Regions from separate parts of the Homo sapiens genome. Here region 1 is linked to region 2. The links are contacts of gene promoters, found by promoter capture Hi-C in blood cells and fetal thymus (Javierre and others, 2016). All regions are on one chromosome and are shown on one strand. The core of a region is centred on a gene start or on the middle of the fragment in contact, and the rest is flanking DNA. Distances in the headings are between cores, read along the strand shown.

Evidence for each region. Contacts are between HindIII fragments. The CHiCAGO score rates a contact against its expected background, and 5 or more counts as called.
Region 1: a contact is called between a fragment that was not itself captured here and the fragment with the promoter of DNAJC13 in region 2, in 1 of 17 cell types (fetal thymus). The highest score is 6.2, in fetal thymus.

The regions. Positions count from the first base shown.
Region 1 is chr3:134,476,528-134,483,043 of GRCh38, reverse strand. It overlaps ANAPC13 (anaphase promoting complex subunit 13), which reads left to right. Exons shown (of 3, transcript NM_015391.4): 2 at 113-238; 3 at 4,329-5,338. The coding sequence starts at 140. The coding sequence ends at 4,454. Among named protein-coding and RNA genes, the nearest start is that of ANAPC13, 6.2 kb to the left of the region's middle. The HindIII fragment of the contact is 1,099 bases long and covers 1,076-2,174 here.
Region 2 is chr3:132,414,199-132,420,655 of GRCh38, reverse strand. It overlaps DNAJC13 (DnaJ heat shock protein family (Hsp40) member C13), which reads right to left and starts at 3,154. Exons shown (of 56, transcript NM_015268.4): 1 at 2,896-3,154. RefSeq lists enhancers at 2,290-2,825, 2,765-2,914 and silencers at 2,945-3,084, 3,365-3,464. The HindIII fragment of the contact is 2,245 bases long and covers 1,293-3,537 here.

The sequences.
Region 1 (6,516 bases), core at 376-2,875, 2.1 Mb before region 2:
TGAACCTTTTCCCAAAAGGTGGCCCCAGACTAAAAAGCCTGGAGAATCCTAATAGTGGATTATACCATCTCTTCAGTCTTCGTGTTTAAGAAATAACCTCTTTGGCTTACAGATTTGACAAGATCAAAGCTGCAGGAAAATGGACAGTGAGGTTCAGAGAGATGGAAGGATCTTGGATTTGATTGATGATGCTTGGCGAGAAGACAAGCTGCCTTATGAGGATGTCGCAATACCACTGGTAGGTTATGATTTGAGCTGAGGATGGGTTAAAGGTATTGATCTGGCAGTAACTAGTGGAGGAGGGATATCAATGGAAGATAAACTAGTGTGGCAAAGAAATCAAAGCTGTGGAATTCTCTAACTCTAGAAGCTTCTGGAGAGCATCCAGTTGTATGTTTTATTTGAAGAAAAATGTGGTTCAGGGAGCTAACATGGCCAGGTCAGTTAGGAGTCATGCCAGGACTAGAGCCCCGATTTTCTGAGCCATGTTCTGTCCACCACACGAAAACCAGAGAAACCAAATAATGAGAGTTTAATGCGCAAGATGGGGAAGAACAAGAAGCAGCAGCATATGAGCTCTGTTTCTTACTTCCCTGCCTGTGGCTCATCAGTCTTTCAGCATTTTTAGAAACTTACATTCTTGGAGCATACACCTATCTTAGGTTCCCTGGAAAATATTCAGAAGATACCTGGGTATTCTTTTGCGTTTAGGCCAGTGGCCTTCTGGAATACTCTTTTCTTCCCCATCTTTGGAAAACTCTGCTGCAGGGAGTTTGTTAAACCTCATGTAATAAGTGATCCAAAAGTTTTGCTTATATAAATGTTTGTTTAAAATCCTATTTATGTCATAGAGGCCTAAAAAAGGGAAAACAGGACTGTTTTTCTTTAAAGCATGCCAGCTGCCCTGAGAAGAGTAGTTAGTATTGAATAAAATATAATTTATAGTTAGAATATCTGCTGTTGCTGTTTGCAAAGAAATAAAATAGTTCATCTGTATTTTCATTTACGAATAAGAGATAGTAATATGTTCAATGAATAATATACATATCAAATAAGTCATAGCTTAGTTCAAGCTTAGGAAAATAGTCAAAAGAGAGAGCATAATAAGAATTATAGATGTCATTTATTGAATACCAGTTTTATGCCATGGACTGAGGTTGGAAATATACATTATCTCTAATTCTTAAACAACCCTGTGAGGGAGGTGCTGTTATTCCCATTTTATAGGAAAAGAATAGGATCAGAAAGGGCAACTTGCCCAAAGTCTGGTAGCAGGTAAGTAGGGCTTCATATAACATATACCTAGGTCTGTGAAGTTCCAAATCCTGTCTTGTGAACTTCTGTTCATTCATTCATTTGACAAGCATTTTTTGAAGCCTACTGTGTGCCATAAGACTATGTGAACATAAGATACAGTTCCTCCTCCTGAGGGGTCTAGAAAGGCAACACTTATAGATAAGTAATTGTGATAATAAATATTCTAGGTGGGGGCATAAACAGCCACATCATATACGAAGTGGCTGATTGCCTGGTGGGCATCAGAAAGGCTTCTGAGAGAATGTCATGTTTAAGCTGGGTCATAAGGAAGGACCAGAAGTTTAGTGGAGGTAGACAAGGGTATTGCAGCAGAGGGGACAGATGTGTAAAGGCCCAGAGTTTTGAAAGGCTTTGGGACATGGTGAGTCATTCACTGTGGATGAAGAATACATTTGTCACATAAGTAGGCTGAAAAGTTGGGCTTGGATCAGATTGAGAGTGGTATTTGATATCACACTTAGACCTCATCCTCAGGAGATCCAGGAATGAATGGTCTTAAAAGCAAGACTGCTATGCTCAGATTTGGCTTTTGGAAAATCAGTTTAGCCAGCATTGTTAGAGATGGTGTGACATGGAGATAGGGGCAAGTGAGACCAATTGGCAAGCTGTTGTGGTCTAGGCAAGGGAGGAGGGCCTAAACAAAGTCAAGAAAATAAAGGAGACGTCCATTTCTGGAGAAGTTTATGGCTCAGATTGGAGAACATTTGGGTGGCAGGGGTGGAAGGAGGTTTCCCTGCTGACTTCCAGGCGAAGTTGGCTTGGCCCTGCTGCTAATCCACACCTTTCGCTTGTCTTGCGATTCTAAGGCAATGTGTATGCCAGTTAGGTTTTGCTGCATAACAAGTCACCCCAAAGCTTAGTGACTTAAAAGAGCAACTGTTTATTTCATGATTTTGTAGCTCAGCTGGGAGGGACTTCTAGTCTGCACCAGCTCAGCTGATCCCTGCCAGGCTTGCCTGTGTTGTGCAGTCAGCCAACAGACTCTGGAGGCTGGGTAATCTAGGACTGTCTCACATGTCTGGCAGTTAACAAGCTGTCTGCTGGGTGATGGGGTGACTATGCCATGGTCTCTGGTATCCAGCAGGCTAGCCCAGACTTCTCAATCTCAGGGTTCCAAGAGCAACCTGAGAGGAAACGGCAGAGCTTCTTGGAGCTTAGGCCAAGAACTGGCCCACTGGCATGACAGCTTCATTCTGTTGGCCAAAACAACTCACAGGGCCAGTCCAAATCCAAGATTGGGGAAATCAGTTTCACCTTTTGATAAGAGTAGCTGCAAAGAACTAAGGGCATTTTACAGTACACCATAATGGGTGGCTGGGTTTATGATACTTTTGTTTTTGTTTTCCAGGCATATATGCCATTTTATGTGTTGGCATGTATTGCAAGGGACAGTAGATACCAAATGAAAGACACATTATTTTAGAAAGCATACCACAGATAGGATGAAATTAAGCAACGTTGTCTGCTTCTGAATTAAAGAATTCATTAACCAAGGACCTATTTATTCTTTGTCATCTATAAGTAATTATTAGGACTGAACTTTCTTTTTAAGTTTAAGATAATATATTATTGCGTTACAATAAATGATAGCTCTTCTCAATCTGTTCAAGTATGTTTGAATCTGTCTTGTAGAACAAGATGTATGTGATTCAAATATAGATAAGTAAATATCATTTAATATATATTGAGCATAATTTTAGAGGGGAAAACATATTCACATACTACAAATTAGAATCCAGTGGAAAATTTTAAGTCTGGATATCGCATAACAGTTTGCTAACCATAAAACAAAACACAGATAATTGAAAAGAAATATATTGGTATCTGTGAACTCTGGTACAAAGCAGAGTTTCAGTAGTAATACATTTAAACTTAAAATACAAGTAAATGATCCCAGATCCTACAGTAAGTGTGGCCCATGACTTACCATTTTAAGAAAATTGCTGGTAGGGTGTGAATTGGTCATTTGTTGTGTTTTTTGTTGCTCTGCTCCACCACTAGAGGGAGGTCTTATCTATTAATTACATTTTCAGTGTTTCCTGCCCTACCTCCATTTTTATTATAATATAGACATGTTGGGCCAGGCGCGGTGGCTCGCGCCTGTAATCCCAGCACTTTGGGAGGCTGAGGCGGGTGGATCACCTGAGGTTGGGAGTTCGAGACCAGCCTGACCAACATAGAGAAACCCCATCTCTACTAAAAAAAAATAAAAAAATACAAAATTAGCCGGGCATGGTGGTGCATGCCTGTAATCCCAGCTACTCGGGAGGCTGAGGCGGGAGAATCGCTTGAACCCGGGAGGCAGAGGTTGTGGTGAGCCGAGATCACGCCATTGCTCTCTAACCTGGGCAACAAAAGCAAAACTCCATCTCAAAAAAAAAAGACATGTTGGGTCCAAGATAATTTTTTGGATACATTTCTTGTGTCTAAGGAATATGCCAGCAAACTAGTATTCTTTTAAAGCACGCTCCCGCTAAAGAAGATTTAGGATTCACTCATCTCAGTGTTCCTAGCCGCTAATAATAATAGCAAATATTCCTTGAGCACTGGATACCCCACAGAGTGCTCAGCACTTGATCTGAATTACCTCACCTAATCCTTACAGTAGTCCTGTGAGGTGATGGCTCTTTTGTTCTCCCATTTGCCAAGGAAGAAACAAAGGCCCCAAGGGTTTGCATACCTTGCCCAAGTAACCCAGCAAATGGGAGAGTTGTGGTCTTGGATCCTAGTTGGCTTCCAAAAGCCTCTGCCCTTAACCTTTCTGCCACAGTGCCTCCTTCACAAATGTCAGAGTCAAAATGCCCATCATTCCCTACTGAAGAAGGCCCGGGCCATGTTTGAATGATACTTCTGATAGTTTCCTCACGTGTATGATTTTAGCTTTTTTAGAATACACATATCAATTATGTTGCCTGTTCCTAGGAACTCACAAGCTTTAATTCTAAGTGTTCTTGAGTTCCAAGAAGATGCAGAATATATTACTGTTCTGAATTTCTATTGTACCTTTTCAGAATGAGCTTCCTGAACCTGAACAAGACAATGGTGGCACCACAGAATCTGTCAAAGAACAAGAAATGAAGTGGACAGACTTAGCCTTACAGTACCTCCATGAGAATGTTCCCCCCATTGGAAACTGACGCTTGGCTCCTTTCTTGTGGATGGATTTTCTCAAAGTACACAGATAAAGCATGGTTTGTTTCAGTCTCCAAATTCAAACCTTTGAGTAATAAATCAGCACTCAAAAATGTACACCCATTTAGTTTGTGGTAGCAAAGTGCAATGCGAAATTGAATGAGAAACTGAGATTTCTCAGTAATGGTGAATATTTCGCTCTTTAAACCTAAAACTCTTCATTGAGTAGCTTATATTTGAACATGATTGGTTAAACATTTGCCTCTACCTCTGATTTTGCTTTGCTGTCAAAGTTTAACACCTTCCAACTACTTATGTGTGTCCTGTAACACAGGTGATTGAACGTATGAGAGGGAAAGGCAAAGAAAAAGGAAGCCAGACACTAGGAGAATTATTAACTTCTCATACTTCCCCACATTGAGAAGCATTCGGAGTGTATTTAGCCTGTAGATGTTGTGATATGCAAATATCCCATTCCCTGGTTACTGGCATTCCTAAGATTCTTCATGGTATTTTCAAACTTTGGATAAATTTACAGATTAGAAAGATATCTGACAGTTAATCTCTGTTCTCCTTACAAATTCCTTTTGTGCTGCTGGAAAGGATCTTTGGCTAGGTGGATGACTAGTTTTATTCAAAGCCTTTTCTCAAAGCCCTTTCAGTTACAACCACCCCACTATGGAATCAGTATTTAGTTATACATTTGTATAAGAACCTGTATTTTGAAAAACACATTCATGTATATTTATTCCTGGAATTATTTGCCTGTTAAACAGTGTCTTTCATGTTCTCTCCCCAGATTGTAAACTCTGTAAGAAGCTGCTTGTATCTGTATCCCTTGTTGAAACTCTGAAAACACTGAATAACTAAAATCTCTTCTCATCCTTTTTATGCTGGGTCTTTTTGTTTACTTAGCTTTTAGGAGGAAGAGGTACATGAAAAAACAAATTAGCTTATTTTAGGTTTTCAATCACAAACATGATTTTAGCAGCTATCCTATAATCCAGATACATCCAGGCTGATTTCTTCTCTTTGCATCAGTAGTTCTGCCTAGAAATCTTTTATCTTCAGAATAAAGACCCCAAGGCACCAGTCCCTTCAGTAAGCAAAGAAAGACAACCTAATAGAAAAGAGACTTACAATATTAAAAAAACTTATACAAGAGAAAAAGCTTTTCAAAAAATTAAAATACCTAGAACGCCACAGTTCTTTCACATTCTTGTTAAATGAGGATTTTACAGCTTACTTGTGGTATGTAATCTCTGAGACACTAACATCTAAGAACTTGACAAATGTTCATGTGAATCCTGCCTAGCCTTTCCCTGGAATATTAGTAGACCAGTAAAATATGAAAGCTATTCTTGATTTCTGCTGAACCAGAATATGATATCTGTAAGACAGCTGTTGGTTTGTGTCTATGACACTCATCCGAGAACTGCCGCCACCCCCAGGAATAGCCTCTGGGCAAGTTCGTAACTTGTGTTATGGTGCCAGAACTGTAGCTCATTGTATCAGGAATTAGGTGACCTAATTTGGGCTAGTCAGATTTTGTCAACCAGGGCTTCGAAATCTCCGTCTAGGACTGGCTTGAGGATGATGGGCACAAGAAATGCTAAGTTGCTGTTACAGGGTAGCTTTCTTCAATTGTCTGTACCAAAACACCCAAAAAGGAAAGTATCTGGAGAGGGAGGCCAAGAGGCTATGTGGCCTATTGGTTCCTGACAGCTTTCCAGTTTAGAGCCTGCATATTGCTTTTCTCTGTGGGAGGCACCATGCCTGGCACTGGGAGTATAGCAATGAACAAAGTAAGTGTGGCCTCTCCCTTCATGGAGCCTTTAGTTGGGGAGACAGGCATTAAACCATTAGCCATACAAATACATGATTTCAATTTGGGGCGTATGCTAGGAAGGAAAAATAAAAGATGTGACTTAGGTTGGGTTCCCAGAAGCCAAGCCTGAGGCAGAGATTTCTTGTGCAAGTGATTTATTGAGGTGCTTTCAGAAGAGTCCTGTAAGGTAAACAGGATAGGGCAGGGAAAGAAGCTGAGCCAAGATGTGGTTTGAGCTG
Region 2 (6,457 bases), core at 1,905-4,404:
TTCTTTGTGTTGTGCCTCTTTGCATAATCTTGTTCCTTTCCTAGTAGTATTTTGTGGGTTACTTGTTACTGAAAGCTTCTTAGCTTGGTGGCAGGGGGTTGGGGGTGGGGGATACAGTCTGATGTTCTGATTAAGTCTAAGTCAAACACTGTGTTCCTGAATCTCAGGAGGGCAGCACTCTCGGTTCTGTTGACCACTCCCGACTGCAGTTTTGGGCTCAGGGCCCCTCCTCCAGGCATAAGATTCTCTCCCACTTCTCATCTACCCCCTGAATGTTCACCAATGGGGCCAACAGAGATACCCTTCTCCCCAGAGATTAAAGCTTTTTTCCATAGAAGAGGCAGAGGGGAAGAATCACAGCAGTTTCTTGACCCTCTTAAAAGTTCTGTTGCTGTTCCTCTCCCTCTCAATCTGCACAGCAGACTCACCCAGGGTTCTTTCCAGTCTTTTCTAGTAGACCCAGGGAGGTTTGTGGATAAGAGTTTGCAAGATTGTGCATTCAGCTTTCATCATGCTTTTTGTCCAGTTGTGTCTGAAGACGGTAAACAGAAATTGACATCTACTCTCTGTAAGCACTGTCTCTCAAATTTTCAGCCAGTGGTTTTGCTCTGTGGACTCAGCTCTTTAATAGATTTCAAAAAAGTCATGAATTTGTAGTGTAGGTCTTTTTTTGTTGCAGAAGTGAGAGCAAAGCTTCTTTTTTTGTCTCAGGGCCAAAGCCAGAGGTAGTTACATTATTTATAAACTAAAGATAGCAAAGAAGGTGTTACTAATTATTTTTTATAAAAAGGGAGCCTTTATTGGGTCTAATAAAGTTGAGAAACACTGACTCAAGGAACTCTTTCAAAATATTAATAACTCCCCTTTAACTACTGCCATGTTTTACAGTGAACATTTAGGCCAAAACCTATTTGTAGCAACCAAATTTGTGCTGCAGTTTATCTGCACAGCCTTGTTTCAATTACTAATTTAAAGTACCTCAATCAGAAGCAGGGGAAAGGTATGTGTAGCAGAAACCTCATATTCACCTGTGTAAACAGAACTGGTTGAGGAATGAAGCCAAATTAGTTAAAACACATCTTTTCAATTTCAACCCTAATTTGGGACCTATTGAGAACCGGACTCCACTATCAACCTTTTAACAAATTTAATAAAGCCAGTATTGTTACAGTCCACCTGGGCAAGGCAACCATCTTCTATTTATTTGTGGATAAAGTTAAATTATTCCAAACAATTCATTCACTTATTAATATTTTATTTTTTAGCTTAAGTATTTTGTTTACAACTAAGCTTGTTAACAATATATAACATTAATATATTTTAGACTATTTATTACTACCACTTTAGAAAAAGAGGAATATTCATTGCCTCTCAGTGGAATACAAATGCTGATATTTTCCATGAACTGAACTCTAGCCTTAAGGTTCTTTACATTCTTATTTCTTAATAATCCTCTGACTCCTCTTTTCCTCCCTTAATATGTTCTACTTCCTGTTTTCAAACAAGGAGTATAATGTAATAATTTCTACACAAGGACGTGTGTTGCCTGAATGCATTGTGATACTAACAGCACAAGCCAAGTCTGAGATATAGTAGCTTAAAAAGCGTTTCACATTACACAAAATGTGAACAAGGTTTTACGTTATATGATAGATAAGCCAATAAAGTACTTTCCAAAAATCAAAGAACTGTGTTCTGGATACCGAATTTCTGACAAGTGGTTTCTATAAATTTATTTTTTTAAGGCAAATTCTGTTTCATACTCCCATAAACTCAAAGTACTGGTAATATATTATAAAACCTTATCACTGTAATTTTCCCTGCAGGCAGTAGTTTCAAACCTAGAAACCTATCAAGTCCATAAACTGAGAAAGAAAATATAGTAAGAAAGAATTACTGGGGGCAGGTTCTGAACTTCTACTTTTTTCCCCAAGACACTGTATTACAAAAGGCTCAACATAACTGTACACTATAAAGCCCTTCATAGAGGACGCAACAGCATCAGGTACAGAACCTCCTTTTTGAGGGAAATCAGAATAACGTAAAAGGGAAAAGCAGAGGGAAAATGAGAAATAATTACTTTGGGAGACCACCGCCACATTAGGGTGAAATCTTTACTTTTTTCCCCCCTCTAAGCAACGGACACAGGAAACAATCTTAAGACAAACGTGGTTAACGGAACACGCTACAAAAGGAGAAAATTTAAGGGAAGGCACTCTTAAACATAGTTAAGTATCAAGTGATTAACAGCCACTTCACTGAGCGTCTAAGTCCTACTTTACCCACTCCAAAGGCCACATTCAAAGATAAAATCACAGCAGCGGAGGAAAGGCCACGTGAATAAGCTGCCTTGCAGGAAGGAAAAGCCTTAGGGGAGAAAATGATTTTAGAAAAAGTACTGGAGAACAGACGACGCGGATGCTCATTTCCTAACAAAACGAAACAAAGCAAAGAAAGTCAGTCTGCAGGACTTGTTCGGAAGGAGGGTCGCTGACCCAAGGAAACAAGAGTTGCCGGCATCCAGCAGGAAGGGTGCTCAGACTAGGAGACTGGAAGGGAATCCCGAGGGCGGAACCCACAAGGGAATGAAGAGCCTGTGGGGTAAGGATATGTTAAGGCGAGTGGAGGAGCGTACTAGGTATAAAACAAGCAAAAAAAAGGGGTGGGGCTGGACAGGGCAGCGCCCTGAGCTAATGTCACTCAAAGCCGGGGGGGCGTCCAACGAAAGGAACCAGACCAGCAGCCTGGGGGAAGGGTAATCTGCTTCCTTAGCAGCTGCAGGCTGCAGCAGCCAAGACCACCCCGTTTTCCCTGCCCTGAGCCCCACAAAGTCCCCACGGCGTGGGAAGGGAGTAAGGCAGAGCCCCAGAGCCCAGTGCCCGGAGTCGGCTTTACCTTCGCGGGAGGCTGGAGAGGCTCCAGCCCTAGCTCCTCCCGCCGCCGGCTCAGCTTCCAGAGTGGGATGAGGCGCCCTCCGGCCTCCTCACCCTCACCACTTCCCCTTTCCCCCGCCGGGGCCCTGCAGCTCCGCTGCCGCGGGTTCCTGGTGCCGCCGCGGCGCTGCCTCCCCGCCCCCTCCGCCTCCTCCCTCTGCCTCTCAGAGTTTCACTCTGGAGGCCGCCATCTTCGCTCAGGCTTTGAGCGAGCGCGCTCTAATACGCCTGCGTCGCCACCGCCCAGGCTGTCACGAGACCCAGTCAGCTGATTTCAACTCTTCCGTCTTCTGCCCCGCCCTCCCCGTCCTCCCCGTCCCGATCGTTCTTTCCCTGAAATTCTGCTTTCCTCCGGCCAGCCCCCAGCAGCTACACATGCGCAGAGTAACGACACCGGCCGTGGGATTTGGATTCCACGCAGCGCGTCAGGGGGCTGGCGCCTCGGTGGGTGCTGAAAAGGACACGCCCCTGGGCGCGCGCGGGTGCCCATGACCACGCCCCTCCGGCGGGTGCCCATGACCACGCCCCTCCGGCGTGTGCCTTAGGGCCGCGCCCCTCCGCTTATGTCCTGCGGAGAGTAGGGTCGCAACCCGGTACTTAAGCTTTAAGTCCGAGGAAATCTTGTTTTAAATCACCTCTTTTTAGCTCTTGCCGTCAAGTGCCATGGAGCATCTGCGAGGCAGTCTGAAGCCTCAGCCTATCTCCTGGTTTGGCTGGATTGGGAGCCAGCAGGTTCATTTACTATTGAGACGTCCTGAACGACAGCAGAGCAGGGTTTAAGTTATGGATGCTCTGGAAGGTCTCAGAGACCAAATTCTCAGAGACGCCTAAGGCATTTGCAGGTGGGAATGCTGGAAAGATAGTTCTGGTAGCCCCATTTATTGTGTCCGGATCAAGTGTTTAGAAGTTTACTTAAAGCTGCTTAATCTTCAACTCTCTGAGATACGAATCATCCTCGTTTTGCAGATAAGTTGAGGCCCAGCCTCAGAGTAGTGGATTTCATGTTTGCACCCAAGTAATTTGAACCCAGAACCTGTGCCCTCTAGATAACCATCTTCCTGAACCTCACCTGAGAGGGAAGTCAGGGCAGTGAAAAGAGGGGATATTGGGACTAAAGGATTCGGCTAGAAATTATGTGTTATCTGTGGGCAATGGTTTAAATAAGAAAGGTCAATGTCCACTCCCAGATCTGAGCCGTAAAGACCACAGTTTAAAAATTAGTGATTAAAAAAAAAATAGTGATTCTGCTGCAGACTTCAGAGTAGAGGCAGTGTAGGGTGACCTGCATGGATACATTATTGTATAAGGGTTAAAGGTCTCTGATAAGGAGTTGAATACTCATTCTTCATGGCAGTCCTGAAATTGTGATTTCTTGGCGTCCCCTTCAGCAAGTTGGCTCATTTTATAGACAGCGATTGCAGGATGAAAAAATGTGGAAAAATGGTTTTTACAGACTTTACCTCTTGATTCTATTAACCCTTTGCCCTACCTTAGGGCGGAAAAAGACTATTTGTGTTTATCCTTAGACTTTTCTGTAATGCAGCAGTAAGATAAGGTGCATGTAAGGGAAGGTACTAGGAATAGCTGGGTGTGGGAAGACAGAACCCGAAATAGAGTAGGAAGGGAGGAGGAGGAAAAAGAAACAGGAGGGCTGTGTTAAGGGGCCTTATTGGCTTATCCCATGGAAACAGAAACGTGTTTATGTGGTTACAAAGCCTTCCAGTAATCCCAAAAGTAAATGTGGGGTATATTATTTCGATTTTAGAGAAGCAGCAGACCCAGAGAGTCCAGGAGACTTGCTAAAGGTGACCTAACTCCTAAAGGTTGAGCCAAGATTAAGACACAGGGCCTGCCTGTAACATCAAGGCCAGTGAACTGTTCAACCTCCACACTGCCTCTCTGTTCAATATTTGAGACCAATAAAATCAATTCTCGTGTTGAGAGGAGCCTTAGGCATCATGAATTGTCCCCATCCTCTGTAGTGCAAAATTGCCTCACAAGACATCTTTTTCCATTGCATTTTTATAAGCCATTTTCCTTGTATTCAGCCAACTTGCACTCTCTTCTATGAGTAGTTATTTTGTCTTTGTTTCTTGCTCTTTTCTTCTTGTATGTGACATTCATTTAAGCACTTATCAGTACAGCTTATCACCCTTTCCCACTCCCTCTCCCGTGCATATCCTTCTAACTACCCCTGCTACAGATACTCATTTTAAGAAACCATATTCAAAGTACTTTCAACCATTGTTCACAAGATGTAGTTTCAAGCCTTTTCACAACCACTGGTTGCTTTTAATTGGATCCATACAATTGGATCCTTCTTAAAATGCCACAACAAAATACAAGAGTCAGGGAGAGTAGGACTTGTCTCTTCTTTCCCTATTAGGTTAAATCAGTTGGATCCTTTCCCCACCCAACTCTTTTTTAAGAGTGACAAATGCACACTTCTTTTTCTGGATTTGTCTTTTTATTCATAATTAAAGTTTGCACTAGCGTTTCTGACACTTTCATAGTGCAGATGTATCAAATTTACAATCTAAATTATGTGATGTACACTTAAAATATTTCACAGCTTTTTAAAAAATACATTTCACAGCCTTTTAGGCACCAATAGCCTTTATCAGTCTCCAAAGTTAGCATACAAGGCTGGAGTGATCTAAGACTTTAGAGAGCCCACAAGAATGTCAAACACTTGCTTATCTAATTCCCATTGCTGCTAAATTGACCTTCCTAATTATATCAATGCCCAGATCCAAAGTAAATCCTTAAGAACTCATACCACTCAACAATGCTTGAACTATGTTTTCAGTACAGTAGCCACTAGCCCTATGTGGCTACTGAACACAGAATAAAAATTAAAATTGTTACAAAAAAATGTAAAATGTTGCATTAGCAATTTTTATATTGATTACACGTGTTAAAAGAAAAAAATATTTAGGCCGGGCACGGTGGCTCACGCCTGTAGTCCCAGCACTTTGGGAGGCTGAGGCGGGTGGATCACCTGAGGTCAGGAGTTTGAGACCAGCTTGGCCAACATGATGAAACCCCGTCTCTACTAAATATAAAAAAATTAGGCGGGCCTGGTGGTGCATACCTGTAATCCCAGCTATTCGGGATGCTGAGGCAGGAGAATCACTTGAACCTGGGAGGGGGAGGTTGCAGTGAGCCGAGATGGTGCCACTGCACTCCAGCCTGGGCAACAAGAGTGAAACTCTCAAAAAAAAAAAAAGTATTATTTAATGATACTTGTTAAAGCTTGGTAATAGGCTGAGCATGATGGCTGACACCTGTAATCCCAAGGCTTTGGGAGGCCAAGTCAGGAGGATCACTTGAGGCCAGGAGTTTGAGACCAGCCTATGCAATGTAGTGGGACCCCATTGCTACAAAATAATAAAAATAAAAGCATTATCTGGGCATGGGGGCATGCCCCTGTAGTGCTAGTTACTCAGGAGGCTGAGGTGAGAGGATCTCTTGAGCCCAGGAGTTCGAGGTTACAGTGAGCTATAATTGTGCCACTGCACTCC